Regions from separate parts of the Homo sapiens genome. Here region 2 is linked to region 1. Evidence: promoter capture Hi-C in 16 types of primary human blood cells and fetal thymus (Javierre and others, 2016). All regions are on one chromosome and are shown on one strand. The core of a region is centred on a gene start or on the middle of the fragment in contact, and the rest is flanking DNA. Distances in the headings are between cores, read along the strand shown.

Region 1 (5,040 bases), core at 1,239-3,738:
CTGGAGAGGATGCAGCCCAGAACTTTCCCATTGACTCACACACCCATTCAACATGAAGGGAATAATACAAATACCAGCTGCCGTTTACTGAGCACTTATTACATGCCAGGCCCTGTTCTAAGCCCTTTACAAGCATGGTCCTGTTCATCTTCACAAAACCCAGCCAGCTAGGAATAAGGTGCCGGTTTTGTGGAAGAGAAAAACAAGCAGCAGAGTGGCTCACCCAAGCTGGCACAGCAGAGTTAGGATTCAAACTCGAGCCTGCCTGATGGCAAGCCTCATGGCCCTCCTGTGGTGCCGCCTGCCTCCCACCAACATGATTCTGTGAGTGTCTCACTGCTGTCCCCTACCACCAGTGGATATGTTACTCTGCGTAGCCAAGCCAGGCATGTGGGTATCAAGAGGGTCCCTGGACAGAGATGGAGGAGAGAAAATGCCAACAAAGAACAGGGGAGTGTGCTCAGAAAGGGACAGAGACCACCAGGAGGCTGCTGGCTGCTGAGGGTCCGCAGCGCTGGTGGAGGCACAGGAGAGGGAGAATGTTCTGAGTACAGGGAGGAAACAGAAGGAGGCAGAGGCCAGGGATGTGTCCATAGACATGACATGGAGTTTGGTCCGGCCAGAAGGGTCCAGGAGCAGAGGCATGCTGGAGAGCAGAGGCATGCTGGAGAGCAGAGGTATGCTGGCGCCAGAGCGCACATGATGCAGGACAACGTGATGTCAAGGGAGGCAGGGAGGCAGGAGAAGGCAGAGACTGGGCCTCCGAGCAGTGTTGACTGCCCACTTGCCCACAGCTGGAGCCCCACCATGGGGTGCTCGCCTGGCACCACTTTTCTGCCCAACTGCTGGCATCTACCCTGGCGCAGGGTCTTCTGGAGAAAATGAGTCAGCAGTGTGCTCACTGGTGCCGCGCGCGCGTATGTGTGTGTGTGTGTGTGTGTGTGTGTGTTGTGGTGAGGGGGTGCGGGGCGGGGGAATCGCAAACAGCCAGCTTTTTCCAAGACATGGGGAAGAAAGGAGGGGGTGTCATCCCGCGGACTCCAGCTCAAAGGGGGCAGGGCCCAGCTACAGCCCTAACAGCCTCTGGGGAGTGTCCTGGTGTCCTGGGGGCAGGATGGAAAGAGAGGAGCGCCGTCCACAGGCCCCAACGGGCTGCTTGCATGCTGCTGGCTCCCACACACACCCACACGCTGCGCCGGCTCCAGCACAGGCTCACTCTCTCTTACAACTCCTACTCCACACGCTGGGAATCCCAGCCTCTGGGCCCCAGCTCCGCGCAGCCGCTCCTGGGAGAGTCCCTGCCCCTCTCCGGCCCTGTCTCCCGATCTGTACACTGAGGGGTTCCGCACAGTGATCGCCCAGGGCCCTTTCTGCTCTGACATGCTGGCTCTCACTTTTTCTCTCTTACACACGTGAAAGGGACAGGAACCGAGAAGCAGGAAACACAGACACACAGACCCAGGCCGACTAACACAAACACGCGGAGATTTCCAGAAACGCGGGGACGTGCAGAGCCACACAGACACGGAGACAGGAGCAGAACCCGAGACCTGGTGACCTAGAAACTTGCGGACAATTTCACAAGAACAGATAGAAACGGAGACGTACAGGCTTGGGACCTGCAGACACTGAGACACCGGAACACACCGAGACGGCCCCAAACGGAGACCCCCCTCCTCCCCCAAGCATCCAAAAAGCCCCCCTCCGCACCCCGCCGGCCGCTCCAGGCGCCACCACCCACCCCCACCCCCGACCCCCGGGCTGGCTCTGCCCCCGCCCCAACGGGATCGGGCAGCCGGGCCAGGCGCGGCAGGGCGGGCAGCGTTCGCCAACTCTCGCCCGGCCGGGGGCGCAGCCCCTATTAACCCTTGGCGTCCCGCCTCGCGGGGGCGCAGGAAGGGGCAGGAAGCTGACGTTCCGCTGGAAGCGACCGCATGGCGGGGAACCCCGGCCCTCCCCGAGATTGGAGCAGCAGGAAGCTAGGGAGGGGGCGTCCCCGAGTTCGTACTCACCCCCCGCGCGCCGCCGCCGCCGCCGCTGTGCCTCGGGCCCCCCGCGCCGATCCCGCTCCCATGGCAGGCCCCTACTTCATGCTCCCGAGCCCGGGGGGCAAGTGTGGGCGCGCCCCATGGGGCCGCCAGCCCCCCGCCCCGCCGCGCCAGGCCGGCTTAGAGCGCGCGGCCCCCGCGCCCCCAGCGCAGCCCCGCGCCCAGGGGCGCCCGAGCAGGCAGGCAGCGCGGCTGGGGCCCCGCGGGCGCCCGCGCCAGGCCCATGGTCCCAGGAGTCCGGGCGCCGCGCTCGCCCCTGCCTCGGTCCTTTTCTGCTTCCACCAAAAAGGAAGAAGAAGCAAGAAAAAGAGAGAGAGAGATGATCAAACTTTTGGAGGCGGGCTGCTGGCGGTCCCCGGAGGCAGAGCAAGGCCGGGTGAGGGCGCGCGGAGGGCGGTGGAAGCTGCCTCCCCGCCGGCCTGGGGGAGGAGAGGAAAAGGAAGGATTTGGGGGAAATGAAGGCGATTTAAAGTCTCGGCCCGCGGTGGCTCTCCACCTTCCCTCCTCCCCGCTCCCGGCCGCCCTCTGCTGCCCCCTGCTGCCCCCTGCCGGCCGGAGCCAAGGGTACAGCCTCAGCTGGCCCACTACAGCCCCGATGGGACACCCGCCCCCCTCCTCCTTGTATAGATGGGGAAACAGATTCACAGAGAGGAAGGGGCTGCCCAGGGCTTCACGGTGATTTGATCACCGTTCTGAGATTAGGAACTTCTGACTGGTGAGGCTGGGGGTCCTCCAATGGGGGGTTGGGGTAGGGGAGAAGGGCCAAATTCTACTCCTGGAAGAAACCCACAGTTTCAGGGACGGAGCTAGGACCAGAACTTGGTGTCCAGACGCCCACGACAACCAGTATCGTGATCCCCACCGCCCACCAAAAGTTTGCGCTCCCAGACTCGGAGCGCCCTGGAGAACATATAGGGTGGGCTTGTTAAGGGTTTGCCACCCTCTCTCTCCCTTCTGTCAGCAATTGGAATCTAACCGCACCCCACCACCACCACTAACCACGCACCTCCCCAGAATCGACAAAAACTCCCTCGGATCCCATCCGGGAGCTAAGAGCTGCACACCTTGGCCCCCGGGCAAATTCTCACACCCAAAACTCCAGTCCAGCCCTGGGACCACAGCTCCCTCCGCCTCTACCACCTCTTGCCACTCGTTCACGAGCAAAGTTACACTTATTCACCGGTGCACACACACACTCCCACACGTATCCACCCTTTCCCCAAACTCAGACACACGCTCACACACGGTCCCATTCTGGGACAGCCACGCACCCTTCCTAGGTTCACACGAAACGCATCCTCAGATATCTGGGCTCAGGCGCACGCTGATACTCTACACTCGCAGAAGCATGCACACGGATGCTTACACAGGCACAAATGCACGCTATCCTGGCCATATCGCCCCCACACATGTACACACCCCGGGTGGACACACGCGCGCACACCCTCACTTGCACACAGTTCTCCGAGAGTGCCCACCGCACATGTGCACACACGCATTCACTCCTCACGCGTGTACCCACCTCCCCATACGCGCACACCTTTAGGCGCGCGCACACACAGGCATATAACACTTCGCACCGCTCCAGGAGCCCCCAAGCACTTACTGGGTCCCTACGTGCGAGGCTGGCCGGTCGGTCCTTCCTCCGGCGCCTAACGGCATTTGTATTCATGGGTCCCCGCAGCCGTGGGCGCGGGGGCGGGGGGCGAGGTCCCCTTCCCTAAACGGGGCGCGGGCGCGCGGAGCGCAGCGGCACCGGGAGGGGCATGGGCGCGCGGGACTGCGCCGCCGACCCGGTCCGCCTGCGCTCGAACTTCGGCAGCTCTGCGTCCACGGGCTCCGGCGCGGGCTCCGAGAGCTGGGGGCGGCTCATAGGTGCTGGGGCGGCGGCGCCCGCCGGGCCTTTTGAAGTCTCCGCTGGGGGCGGGGAGGGGGCGCTGAAGGCGGCCTTTTAAACCCTGGCTGCACGCGGGCTCGGTCGAGCAAGGTGTCTGGTTTCAACAAACTTTAGGAAAAGTCCCAAGCCGAGAGAGGGGAGGTAGGGGGGTTGGGGGAGCTGCATAGCTGTGCGCTGCTTCCTGCAGAGGGCAGAGCACCCATGGCTGCCAGGAGGGAGGCCAGTCGCGGGACTGGGGAACTGGCAGGCTGCTGGCCGGCGCGTGGAACCACCCCCGCCACCCCCGCACCCCCAATGTTGAACCAGAGTTCTTAACTTCCATGTGCACGAACCCCAGGGAGTGCAGGAACACCCCCAAACTGTGCACAAATTGAGCATGTTTGTGCATTCTTCAGGGGAGAGGGGCCGTGGGCTTTCCTCCGGTTTTCAGAAGTCCACGGCCCCCTAAGGTTGAGAACTCCCTCTTCAATCATAACTGATGTTTTTTTAGTTGCATACTTGGTACCATGCAGACCCTGTCTTTATTTACATTTTAGATATTTTGTTCATTGTGGGGTTTTGCATTAATTTTGATACTTTTAAAAATATTTTAAAAGTAAAAAATTAAAATATTATTTTGATTACTTAGGGGTTTGGGGCACTGCTTTGGGCAATTTACCTCCGTTGCTGAGTTTTCTTGGCATCTCCTGGTATGCTGCATCTCTGCATGTGCCACACCCTAGTCCAGACCCTGACCCACACAGTGCTGGGGTTTAAGGGAGGCCTGCTTTTTTCTCTCCATTTACAGATGGGAAAGCTGACATAAACGGGTAGGTGGTAGAGGTGGGATTTGAACCCAGGTAACCTAACTCCAAACTTCTGCATCTTGTCATAAGGATCCAAATCTTAGGCTTTAAGGGGTTCTGTGCAGATCCTCAGCAGCCTCCCCAGCTTCAGATCCGGCCTCCTGAGCTCCAGTCTCTCTGATACCTGCACCCAGGCTCAGGTAAGCTTGACTACTTCGATGCTTTCTCCATACTGTTTCCTCCCAGGTTCTCCCTCTGCCCCTTTTCTGCCTGTTCACAACCTGGTTATTCTTCTAGGTGCAGGCCAGAG
Region 2 (5,040 bases), core at 1,477-3,976, 360 kb after region 1:
TATACACGTGTCGGGCTGCGTGTCTCCAACACTGACCTGTTTATCTGTGCAGCTGAGTGTAGGCCTCCTGGTCCCAAGAGCCCTCCATGAAACCTGGGTGAATGACAAATGAACTCGCAGGCTCTGAGAAGGAGCCTGAGTTTGGCCAGTAAGACCAGAAAGTGAACACTCACTATCGAACTGAAATGAAGGGAAGGTGAGTGGAAACCTGGCCAGATGAGCCCTCTGGTTTCCGCAGCTGAAGGTCATGAGGCATTAAATGCCCAAGTCCACCTTTGGATCTTCTCAGAAACCACAGTCCACCCAAGGTGCCTCAATGCCCTTTGTGGGCTTGGCCCTTCCAGAAGACATCAGGGCTGAGTATAAAATTGGCTTCACCGGGTAACGCTGCATGCGTGTGTTGTGTTCCTGGTAATATAATGCTTTGTCTATGACTTTTTAAAACAATGAAAACGTAAAAGTGAAGGGCCCAGCCGCGAGGAGAGAGGTGACGAGTGGAACTGATAAGTTTGATTTCGTATACCTTTCTTAGCAAGTGGGGGAATGCTGACATCACCCAGAGCACCCCGAGAACAGATTCTTCTTCATCCCCAGGGCTGCCGGGAGTAAAGGGGCTGAACAGCCTCCACCAGCCCTCGGGTGACTTAAAGGATTTCCAATTTGTAAACAAATAGATTTAGAACAAGACTCCCCAATGGGAGAACTAAGTCAAATTCATTTTGTCAAGGAAATCATTGTCAGATATAATTTTCCCTAAATTTCCACAGCCAAACTCAACCTTGGCTATCAAGGCAAGTAGCTACAGGCTGGGCCCGTGGTGGTGCACGTCTGTGCTCCCAGCTACTTGGGAGGCTGAAGTGGGCAGATCACTTGAGCCCAGGAGGTTGAGGCTGCAATGAGCCACGATCATGCCACTGCACTCCAGCTTGGGTGACAGAGTGAGACCCTGTCTCAAAAAAAAAAAAAGTAGTTATAAAGGAACGTGAATGTTAATTTTTTAAAATCCCCACCTTACTATCCTTGAGGAAGATGGATCTGCCAGAATCACTTTCTCCCTTGTGTGATGCTTGTTACTATTCATCTGTTTCTTTCTTCCTAGATTGTCAGCCCCTTGAGGGAAGAATCCATGAAAAACTCTATCTTTGACCTCCATGTTCTCTGGTGCTCCCTGAGTTCTGTAGGCAGTAGCATCAAAATTGTGGCCCCTTGCTGAGTACGGTGGTTGTAAGGGGTAAATGAGAGAATCTTCCCCACATACGTGGCAGTATGCCTGGCAAATAAAGATTAGCTCACACGTATTATTTTAGTGATGAGGATAGTTAGGGTGACCAACTGTCTTGGTTTGCCTGGGACTGAGGGGGTTCCCAGGATGGACAGTCCTGGGTAAACTGGCACAAGTCGGTCGCCTTAGGGATGGGTGGTCATTGAGTGCCTGTGACTTGTCAGGCATGGTTGGTGCTGGGTAAATTAGATGGATTATTTCATTTAAACCTCACAACAGCCCTGTGAGCTATTTGTGATTATCTGCATTTTACAGAGTAATACATTAAAACTTTAAGTCATATCTTCCCAGCTGCTAGCTCCTTCTCCATCAAATACTGATTTTTTCAAACAAGAAAATGACTTCATTGCTGTTTTATTCCACTGCGGTAAATTGAATGCCCTTGTCTCCCAATTCTTAACCCTCCCTGCATACACACACTTGCCATATGACTTGGGCTTGGCCATGTGACTTGGCAAATGGCATGTGGACAGAAGTGACAGACCCAAGCCCAGGCCTTTTTTGCATGTTTCTGCTTATACTTTTTTTTTTTTTTTGAGACAGAGTCTCGCTCCATTGCCCAGGCTGAAGTGCAGTGGCATGATCTCGGCTCACTGCAACCTCTGCCGCCCAGGTTCAAGTGATTCTCCTGCCTCAGCCTCCCAAGTAGCTGGGATTACAGGGGTGCACCACCACACCTGGCTAGTTTTTGTATTTTTAGTAGAGACGGGGTTTCACCGTGTTGGCCGGGCCAGTCTTGAACTCCTAACCTCCAGTGATCTGCCCACCACAGCCTCCCAAAGTGCTGGGATTTCAGGCGAGCCACGGTGCCCAGCCTTGCTTACACTCTTAAGCCTCTACCAGATCCATGAAAGGACTGTGCCCCAGCCAACCTGCTGGTCCAAGAAGACTGAGAGACACGTGGAGCAGAGCTGTCTGCTGAGTCACAGACCTGCAGCAAGAAGAAGGGGCACCCAGCAAAGCTCAGCCCAGATTAAGCCCCAGCTGACCAGTAGATGGGGAAGGGATAATACATCATTGTTTTTAAGCTCCTGAGTTTTTAGGAGGTTTGTTACACAGCAGTAGCTAACTGATACATTCACCAACTTGACATAGGCTTTGGGGTGGGTAGATTTTACTGCTAAAGTCCTTTGATGAACTAAGCTTGTATATTATATCTGGCCAAGTATTCCTAATTGCTGGGTTCCTAATTTACGGGATGGTTGCTATTCCTTGCAGCGGGCATTTCTAAAGGTTAAAAGAAGGGGAGAGAAAGGAAAATGTTCACTGTGTGACCAGTGCAATGTTTGCTGGTTTCACATGTTCTCTTTGCTTGTTTATGTTGTGTGGCATCTATTGACCCTGAAGCCACCCCAGGCCTCTCTCTTCCTGGGAACAAGGACCTCAGACCTACAAGGCAGATCTAGGGCAGATGGTCTTACCAGAAGGGACCTTCATTGGTAGCTTTCCACAGGCATCATTTTCTGTACATACTCTAGGGCACAGAGGAGAGGGCCAATGATGAGCAACCTGGGATCCTGGCCACACTCTGCCATGAACTTGCTGCAAGACCTGGGGCAAACCCCTTCCTCTCTGAGCCTTTGCCTCCCCCCATTTGCTAGTCTTTGGGAGTGGACGTGAGAGCTCTTTCAGGTGGCACAGACAGAAGCAATGTGCAAGGTGGATTTTGCACGACGGTTTTGGGGTCAGACCCGGGTTTATACCCTGCTGCCTGCCTTGTGAGCTGTGTGACCTTGGGAAGCTTCTTCACCTCCCTGACCTCAGTTCCCCGTCTCTGTGAGACAGTCATCGTGAAACCCAGATGCAAGAAAGTCCATAATGGGCCTGGCACAAGGGAAGCCTTCAGCATGTGTGTTTGTTATTACTAATATGGCACAACTAGTTAGTCTCCTGAAATCAGTCATCTCAAAATAGCAATCACTTACTTTCAACAGAGTAAATATTTCTCATCTGCATCATTTCAAGCCTTCCCTCTTTAATTTTACAGTTGCATTTACAAAGGAGTTATTTACAGTGCAAAGGGACAAGATGGGCTGCCTCCTTGAAATGGTTTCACAAATTTCCTCTCTTCCTGTTAAGATATTAGCGCCCAGTAATTGTCGCTCTATATAAATGTGGAGCGTCGGCTGCGAATGTGCACCCTGTAGTAATTGTGAGTTGTCTTGACGCTAATTACATAGGGGAGCCTGTTTAATTGCCAGTTAAATTGACTGTGTGTGTTTTCTCTAATCTGTGTTTCCGGGCAAGTTGGATGGCATCCGCTCCTCGTTGGACTAAGCATGAATTTGGAAGACCTCAAGAGGCTCTGCTGCAGGAGAAAGTGAGGCTGGAGGAGGGGAGGTGGGGTATGACAGCCGATGATGACACGATTGTGTCCATACACAACGAGTGGCCATTGCGAGATCCAACCCGGGGTCTCCTGGAGGTTGAGGAAAGTAAGACTTCTCTTCTGCCCATGTTCAGAGCTGACTTGGATGAGACTTGAGGGCTGCACAGGGCAGGAATGATAGCTTGGGCCTGTCATCAGGACTGAGTCCCAGCCGATGGCACCCAGCCCTGCCACAGCATCCCTAAACTGTCTACTCCCCGCTCCAGACCTTTGCTCATGCTGGTCCTTCTATCTGGTCCCAGTTCCCCCCACCCTCATAACTCTATGTTATGTCACTGTAGCTGTGTCATTCAACGCCCAGCTACAAAACCACATTTTCCATGCAGCCTTTCTGGATGTCGCCTCTGGAAGAAGGGGTCCTCTCTGGTCCAAGCCCATAGCTCTTTTTGTGTTATCCTGAGGCCTTACTCATTCCCTGCTTGTATTTGAACTGATTGAGCACCAGACTGTGAGTCTCTGAAGACAGGTCATGCCTCATACAGAGTGAGTGCTTAGTAACAGGAGGTAGGAGTCAGAAGACAGGAGGGGAGAGAGAAGAAGAAGGAGGAGGGGAAGAGAGAGGAGGAGAAGAGAGAGGAGAGGAGGGAAAGAAGGGAAAGGGAGAGGGGTTGGAGGAAGGAGAGGAGGCAGAGGCAAAGGAAGGAAGAGAGGAAGGAAAAATGGAGGGCTAACAATACCAACTAACACTTCTTGAGTATTGGGGTGTGTATGCGTGTGTGCACATGCACACGCCAAGCACACGCCAAGTATGTCATCCTCGTCAATTTGTTTAATCTGCCTCACAATCTTGAGGCAGATCATCCCCATTTCACTGATGAAGAAACTGAGGACACTGAGAGACCAAGGAACTTGTTAACGCAGCCTTAAGTGGCAGATCCAGGAGTCCAAGTTTTCAACCATCGGACTAAGCTGTCTCAAAGGAAGGAAGGGAGGGTGGGAGGAGGTAGTGAGGGAGGGAGGGAAGGAGGAGGAGAGCTGAATTCCATGGCATGAGTTCTCCTGATGTTTAAAAACCTCTCCAGCCTTCCACACACGCTTTCTCCTTAGCTCAAAAGCTAAATTAGAGCGGATTGCTCTCTCCTCACTTTAGTAATTTAGATAAAAGTAAAATTTTGTCTGAGAGCAGAAGCAATTATAGCACGGGTTTTGTGATTAACTTGATTAACACTGTTTCACTCTAAAAGTGATCCCCCCCCTTTGGCTGGCGACTGTAATCAGAGCCACGTCTTTCAACTATGCTACAGCTGCTCTCTCTCCCCCCACTCCCCAAAAAAGATTTTGACATAAATACTTATTAGGGAGGACTCTAGTCTCTGGCTGGAACAGTTGAGCAAAGAGGAGGAAAATGTCTCTCTCTACATTAGCATCT

The links. The method cuts DNA at HindIII sites, captures the fragments that hold promoters and counts their contacts. A CHiCAGO score of 5 or more calls a contact.
Region 2: a fragment that was not itself captured here is called in contact with the fragment with the promoter of COL27A1 in region 1 in 1 of 17 cell types (M1 macrophages); the score reaches 5.4 in M1 macrophages.

What each region holds. Positions count from the first base shown.
Region 1 is chr9:114,152,985-114,158,024 of GRCh38, reverse strand. It overlaps COL27A1 (collagen type XXVII alpha 1 chain), which reads right to left and starts at 2,488. Exons shown (of 61, transcript NM_032888.4): 1 at 2,013-2,488. The coding sequence starts at 2,074. It overlaps LOC105376225 (a long non-coding RNA gene), which reads left to right and starts at 3,757. Exons shown (of 5, transcript XR_930256.3): 1 at 3,757-4,930; 2 at 5,028-5,040. RefSeq lists silencers at 1,322-1,616, 2,504-2,623 and an enhancer at 4,160-4,681. The HindIII fragment of the contact is 6,106 bases long and covers 1-4,937 here.
Region 2 is chr9:113,788,721-113,793,760 of GRCh38, reverse strand. No RefSeq gene overlaps it. Among named protein-coding and RNA genes, the nearest start is that of ZNF618, 85 kb to the left of the region's middle. RefSeq lists a silencer at 1,383-1,593. The HindIII fragment of the contact is 598 bases long and covers 2,428-3,025 here.